Regions from separate parts of the Homo sapiens genome. Here region 2 is linked to region 1. Evidence: promoter capture Hi-C in 16 types of primary human blood cells and fetal thymus (Javierre and others, 2016). All regions are on one chromosome and are shown on one strand. The core of a region is centred on a gene start or on the middle of the fragment in contact, and the rest is flanking DNA. Distances in the headings are between cores, read along the strand shown.

Region 1 (3,603 bases), core at 249-2,748:
GGCTGCAGTGAGCCAAGATCACGCTACTGCACTCCAACCTGGCAACAGAGTGAGACTCTGTCTCAAAAAAAAAAAAATTAATAAAACGATGATCTAATGCTGCACCATCCAATAAAGTAGCCACTAGCCAATGTGGCTACTGAGTGCTTGAAATGTGGATAGACCAAATGGAAATGTCCTGTAACTGTAAAATAGACACCAGATTTTAAAGACGTTGTACCACAAAAAGACGTAAAATAATATGTAAGCAGTTTTTCTAAATGTGGCTACTAGAAAATTTAAAATTACAGATATGGCTTACTTTACATTTTCATTGGACAGATCTGATACAATTTTACAGAAGTGAAAAGAAATAAACTTGACCTTACCTGGATAACATCTCATTTTCCTGCTTGTATGCAAAAAGCGTTTTTCTTCTCAACAGATGTTCCTTGAGTTTTTGTCTTCTTTGCTCTAGATAACAAAGGTAAGAGCTACAAGTCAATATTAGTTAAAACATCGATAACGGCAAATAAATCTTGTTGACTAAATGAAGAGTTTACTTCCAAAGCTGGTTCCACCTGAGGTCACATCTATATAACAGAAAATTCTCCAATTCAATATTGCCTTTGAGAAATCACCTTAGAAGAGACTGTTACCACAACAGGTCCCCAAAACCCCTCTGCATAAGAATCACATTCTCTACTCCCTGTGAAAAATCTGGAGAACATCATTTTCTACATACAGCTCCTGCTAGCCAAGCTTTAAGAAACTAAATGGTAGAAGTGAGGCACTAGACTCGAAAGTTCTAATTTACCAGAACTGGGTTAGATGAGAATTACTTTCTTCTGCTTTCCCGTGTGTAGAATAAGGGAATAACAATATTAGTTTTGAAGACCCAACCAACCCTCGGTTTCCATAAAGTCGAAGGAGAAGCTGTGAAATTGGAAATAACACATGATGCGACCCCAGCCCTGCAGAAATTCGCTAGGGACCTAAGAGGCGGAGGACCCAGCGCAGGCGCAGTCGGTCCCTGAACCTGTGCAGCCCCGCCCCCAAGCGGACCCAGGGTCTCCGACACCGACCCCGGCCTGAGGCCCGCGCGTTTCCCCTCGCCTAACGGATTCCTTCTTAGGAGGGCCCATCCCAGCCAGCAGCGACCGCACAGTAACACCACGCAGCGGTTCCTGTTTTTATGATCCGTTCCACAAGGCCAAGAATGAGGCAGGGCGAGGCCGACGCCGCGTTCAGGGATCTCACAGAGCGGGGGAGAGGTGAAGCGCGCCAGCGCGGCCCCGAGCCCCGACCGCCGGGCCCGCGCCCGCCACCGCCACCGCCACCGCCACCGCCACCGCCACCGCGGCCTTCACCTTTGAATGCGGACTGCGCCCTCTGACTCGGGGGCAGCTGCAGGTCCTGGGGCACGGCCGGTGTGCTCATCGTAGCCTCGGGTCGGGGGATGCGTCTCCGCTTTAGCGCCAAGATAGAACTTCCTCAGACCACCGCCGCCGCAGTCTGCACCGCGGCTAAGCCGTCAGACGGCGCGGCTGCCGTCTCCGCCCATTGGTTCCTGCGTGAATTGAATAAGCCAATGGGCGTAGGGAGGCGGAGCCTGGACTGCAGTTGCCGGGGCCGGTCTGGTGTCTGCCCAGTTCGGTTGGGACTGAGTCTGCAGGTTTCAAACCTAAACAGCGCTCTTCATCCTGGACGTGCGATGGGGGAGGAGTCGGCCTGCTCAGTCCCCACGACATAGCAGGACTAGGTTGACAAACAACCGAGATGGGACACATCTTGAGACCCTCACAGTCCTTGGAGGAAGGCAGACGAGAAAAAGACAAGAAAAGTGTTGATTGGCTGCCCTTCTTATTAAACATCGACGCGTTCACTGACGAGGACGTAAACACCGATCTGGCGTACCACGAGCGTGTGTATTTTCGTTTCACAAATACTGCTTCATTTTGAGCATCAATTCTGAGGTGGGACGTTATCACCACTTTTTCCACTGAGAGGTGACAGGTTCAGAGGTTGTTTGTCCACGTTTGCACAGCGTGTGAAGGGGAACTGAAATTGGGATCTACTTTCCATACCTTTATTCTAAGCAATTATCAAATGCAAAAAAGGGAGGAGAGGAGGAGAAACAGAAAAAAATGAAGATAAACCTCATCCCCTCCTCAAGGTTATATATAATTCTCCTTTGAAGATAAAATAGCATTTGTTACAGACGTTTTGTGTTTGTGTGGTTAAGTGTGCCGCCATAATCTTCGTTTTTCTCATCTAAAAATACCACCTTCATAAAACCCACACAAACACTCAATCCACATGACAGAACGAAACAAGTCAGGGCTAGAAGGTTTTAAGAGTGGCAGTGGGGAAGTGAGGGCGAGTCTGGACTGCACCTGCCTGGTTTCAAGCACTGGGTTTACATTTCTTGCCTGATCACTGCAGTAAGGCTGGACTGGACTCTTTCAGCCAGGTTTTAGGTGCTCCGGGCACACAGACGGGAGGATGTGATTTCCCCGTTTACCCTTCCCAGGTCTGAGGGCCTCCACAGCTGGCCCTCGGCTGTGGTCAGTTTTTCCCACTTCTGCCTGCTTTTTTCTTCAGACATCTTATGGTAGCGTCTTGCTAATGAGGAATTTGGTTTGAGATTTTGTGTAGTTTTTTACTTGATGAAATGTCCCAGTTTTAGTTTAACATTGTCCATCACCATCCTTAAGATATAACTTGCTGTTTAAATACGTCTGTCATTATTGTTGATTATTTACTAAAGTTTCATCAGACAGGTGGGGCAACCAGGGATTTCTATTAAGTGAGAACAAAATACAGCGTTAATAAGTGACTCAAAAACCTCCAAAACATTATGCTAAGTAAAAGAAGTAATATATGAAAAGTTACATATGGTATGATTCCATTTATATGAAAGATCTAAAATAGATACATCCATAGTGAAATAACTCAGAATAGTAGTTGCCAGAGGCTGAGGGTAGGGGGAGAATTGGGAGACAGTTTAATGGACAAGGGTTTCATTACCTTGAAGTAAGTGAAATGTTTTGGAATTAGAGGTAGTGGTTGGGTGACATTGTAAATGTATTAATGCCATTGAGTTGTTCACTTTAAAATGATTAATTTTATGTTATGTGAACCTCAATAATTTTTTATAAGTGGGCATGGTAAAAAAAGAAATTGACTCAAAGGATACCATGGAGATCTCAGTAGGCTGAGATGAATAGGAAAACCTGCCAAACTGCTAGGTTTTTCAAAATGGCAATTCTCCTCTAATCTCCAGACTCACCCACTCCAATGATATGTCTATTTTTGAGACACTTTTTAATATTACTGCTACACAATTATTGCAGAGAAAGCAGACCTTTTTCTAAAAGATCCAAAAAACAAACAAAAAAAACAAAACAAAAAAGATTTCCTTTCAGAACAGTTCTTTGCCAACACAGCTGACCATGAAACTGCAGGCACCTGGAGTACTGATGATTAATTAGTGTTAGTCGTTCCTCCTGTGGTCATGTGAAGAAGGTAAAGTGCCTGTGAGAGAACAGGGAAGGACAATCTGAAAGTTAGGAGGACAATGGGGACACAATGGGGTCACAAAGTCTGGGGAAGAGAGAAGCT
Region 2 (3,888 bases), core at 1,339-3,838, 7.9 Mb before region 1:
GTAGAGACGGGGTTTCACCATTTTTGCCAGGCTGGTCTCCAACTCCTGACCACCCGCCTTAGCCTCCCAAAGTGCTGGGATTACAGGCATGAGCCACCACTGCGCCCAGCCAGAAGATACATTTTCAAAAACAAAAACACAACTGATTAGGTACCCCGTGACAGGTTTCTGTTAAAAACAAACAAACAAAGGAGGAGATGGAAGAGAAAAATTCAAAATGTCCAGAGATCAACATTTTGAATCTTTCTCCTGTGAGTAGAATTTTATATTTCCACTCACAGTGATCAGGGATATCATCCTAAAGGAGAATGAACCTCTGAAGAGAGAAAACAAAAATGCAGAGTGAGTAAAATTGTTATCTAGATAAATTCAGAGTCAAATTTCTTCTCCCCGTGAAGTTATTCCATGCATATAATTAAGCTTTACAAGGTACCATTTAGTGCATTATTTAAACATTATCACTACTCTGTAGAAAGCCCTGGAACATTCAAGTTCAAATCAGCAAAATCTAATAGTTTGTGTGCTACTGGCCATTGAAGAACAAAAATTATTTTAAGTCCGCCAGGTAGCTACTTTTGAAGTTATATTTTAAAATACTGATTTTTATAGGGGTTCTAATGAAGATTAAAACCTTAAGAAGGAAAAAAACTGCGCTTAAAAATAATGTAAACTTGAACAGATTGGTCTACATAGATCTTCTGTACCCCCCTGAAGATCACATTTTCAGAATTGTAAACTTTTCAGCACTAAATATTTCCCTAATCTGCTATTTTAGGTGAAGCCTATAGAACAGATTTAACAATAGTGTGTCCATGTTTTAGCATCTACTTCTTTTTAGCTTCTACAAGTAACTAAGTACATAGATTTGAATACTAAGAAAAATGGTTTGTCAGTGACAGTTAACAGAGAACCCCAAGTGTAAGAGCAAACTCAGGATATAAGAACTAAAATGAGTTGGTGAAAGCCCTTCAGTCAGAAATTTTCCCTCCAGTGCTCTTTTCTGCCTTTAAACCTTTGTGATTCTAAATTTTAACATAGTAAGTCCCCAATTAAAGACCTAGTAGAAGCCACCTGAAAGCCTAGGAGATCCTCATGCCTAGTCTGTTCGAGACCTAGCAGGAATTACATGAAACTCACAATTCCTAGAAAGATAGTGTTTTTAGCCCCGCAGATTACTACTGCCTTTATGAGTCACTGCCATACAGAAGCAGCACAGACAGGTGGGAGAAACATAAACAGTTAAGTTGCAATATAAAGTAGCAAATGCTACAATATAACATTGCTGAAGATTTATAACAATATAACGAAGCAGGGTGGGACTCTACCTAAGCTTCTGCAGAGGCCCTGCCCAGAGAATTCTGACTGGCAGGGGCATTCCAAGGTCAACTGTATTAGACTTTACAGAGAACCTACAATCTGGTGCATTTCTTGACAATCCAGATAAGGAGAAAAATAAGACTCACTTCCCTGCCCTGGAAAAGCATAAGAGGCCAGAGAAAACAAAGTCAACACGTGTTCGGGACCTAAAAAATGAGACTAATCTTTCCAAAGGAGGGGGGGTCATGTTGGAAAGCAGTAAAATACTGAGTTTGTAAATGAAAATATTACTAGTGTGAAGGATCAACGCTCAACCTAATGAGAAATGGGGAGAAAGGCAAATGAAAGAGGGATCCAAGATTATTCAGGACACCCTTGTGGGTAAAAAAACTGAAAGAAGAGATTCCTATTGAACAGAAACAAAACTGAAGACAGTGTTTTTAACTCTACAATCTTTTACGCCCATGCTGTTCTGCGAAAAAACTGTAACAACAATAACGCATAAGCGTTAAAGGAACCAGGCCCAGAGCCAGGCCCTCTGTGCTCAACATTCAACTCCACCACTTTCTAGCTATGTCATTTTGGGAAAGTTACTTAACAGCTCTTTGCCTCAGTCTCCTCACCTGTAAAATGGGGTGTATAATAACACAAGTGCCTTTAAAATCAGGAGGGGCTTCTTCAAAGCACAGTTGTGATTATATCCCTCTACTGATCAAAAACTTTATTCACAAAATCAAATCCACATCTTTCACGAACCATATAGATCTTGTGTAGGTTCTGCAAAACAATAAGCGCTTCCCTGTGTCATCTCCAGCAGCTCTGTGCTAGAAAGCCTTTTCCTTACCATCTTTCCAAGTCCACTTTAGGAAAGTAACTCTCCCTCCCATTCCACAGTGCACTCATCTGTTCCTCTGTACGTACGGTTTATCACTATTCCCCCTGGTTTTGTTTGGTCTTTTAATGCCTCACTCTTTCTCCTAAAGCAGTAATTGCAGAGAGCCGTTGCAAATCTTTTTCATCCCCGTTCCTACCCTTCATCCCAGAATGTGCCTGTGCAAGCCTGGGAAAAGCGTTACTGAATTAAACGGGATGATTACAACCGTAATGGCCGCAATTCCAGAAACTGCCTAATTTCGCATAATTTTGTATTGTTTTCAAATCCTGAAAATCTTGACACGAAAGGCCTCTTAAAATCAGAACACCATCCTTTCAAGAAAAGTTCTACCGAGCACCCCCACGAGTTGACATTGCGGTCATTCTTAGCTCCAGAAGTTGTGTGTGTGCCGCGGAAGGCAGATTCACACTGGTCCACACTGTACTTTGAAATAAGGGGTAAGAAGAGGCGGCTCCGGCCGCAGCGCGGGCTGTGCTCTGCTCTGCCCTCAACTTCCTATGGGCCCGCGGGCTCCGGCCGCGTTCGTCCCTCTCCGCCGCACTTCGTTCCCAGCCCTCGCCTCCCGATCCCGCTGCAGAAACACCCCCTCCCCGGAGAAGCCGCGCGGACGGCGCTGCAGGTCCTCCCCGGCGCTCCGGTCGGCCGGGGTCTGGGCCGCCACCCGCCCGGCTCGCGGCCCCCGGCCTCTCCCCAGGCCCGCCGCCCGCCGCCCGGGGCCCAGGCCCGCCGCCCGGGGCCCAGGCCGCCGCCGCCGCCGCCTCCAGGGGACCTAGGGGAACTCGCAGGGCTCCGCGTGGCGCCGGGGGCGGAGCCGGCCCGAAGGGCCCGGGGAGAGGCCGGGGGCGGACGACAGCCTCCGCCTACCCCGACACGCACCCCGCCGCCCCCAACCCAACCTCCCTGGGGCCCCGGCCCGCACCCGCGGCCCGGCAGCCGGCGGGACTCGCCACTTACCAACCCGCCTGGGACAACGCCGCGCCGGCCACCTGGGCCATGGTAGCTGCTTAGGCCGGGGGTGGTGGGGGGCTGGGGTGGGGGTGATGGGGAGGCCTCCTACTTGAGACCCCCCCCCTTAAAAAAAAAAAAAGAAAAGAAAAGAAAAAACTCCTCTGGTCGGCTCTGCAACTGGGCATGCTCAGTGCGGCCGGCGCTTCCGCGTGCGGGTTCCGCTCGCCGCGTTTTCTGAGCGGCCGTAGGGGCCGGCCTGGTGTGGGGCTCCCAGGCTGCGGAGCTCCGGGACCTGATCCACCAAACACCGGCTGGTGGCTGGAGTCAGGACGGTTCAGGGACTTTGCCTCTTCCCCGAAGGCTTTTACTTGTTTTGGGGGGCGCTTTTCTGAGTTGCACACCTTGGAAAGTCGCGAGGAGGTTCTTCGTAGAGCAAAAGTGTGGCGTTTGCAGCGCCCACAGGCGGCCACCTCAGAGAGGGCAGGATAAGGCCTGAGGAGACTGACGGGTTGGCTGCGAGGGAACGCGTCCAGGACCGCGCTAAAAAGGTCACGTTGCGGGCAGCAAAACTCAGAGGTGTCCCCAGCCCATTCTGCACAAAAGTTTACTTTCTTATAAACACTCGTTCCCTTCACCTCGCCTTTTGGTCCGCCCGGACGCAAAGAAAAAATGCAGCTCAAGCTTTTTTGAGTCCCCGCGGGCAGATCGAGTTGCCCCAGTCGGACACC

Evidence for each region. The method cuts DNA at HindIII sites, captures the fragments that hold promoters and counts their contacts. A CHiCAGO score of 5 or more calls a contact.
Region 2: a contact is called between a fragment that was not itself captured here and the fragment with the promoter of CKAP2 in region 1, in 1 of 17 cell types (total CD4 T cells). The highest score is 5.1, in total CD4 T cells.

Annotation. Positions count from the first base shown.
Region 1 is chr13:52,453,373-52,456,975 of GRCh38, reverse strand. CKAP2 (cytoskeleton associated protein 2) reads right to left here and starts at 1,498. Exons shown (of 9, transcript NM_018204.5): 1 at 1,350-1,498; 2 at 369-453. The coding sequence starts at 1,419. CKAP2-DT (CKAP2 divergent transcript) reads left to right here and starts at 1,630. Exons shown (of 1, transcript NR_185890.1): 1 at 1,630-2,201. RefSeq lists enhancers at 1,798-1,877, 2,168-2,347. The HindIII fragment of the contact is 3,306 bases long and covers 744-3,603 here.
Region 2 is chr13:60,396,684-60,400,571 of GRCh38, reverse strand. It overlaps TDRD3 (tudor domain containing 3), which reads right to left and starts at 3,352. Exons shown (of 14, transcript NM_001146070.2): 1 at 3,167-3,352. The coding sequence starts at 3,207. RefSeq lists enhancers at 2,501-2,550, 3,431-3,630, 3,480-3,888, 3,701-3,888 and a silencer at 2,721-3,290. The HindIII fragment of the contact is 2,511 bases long and covers 1,333-3,843 here.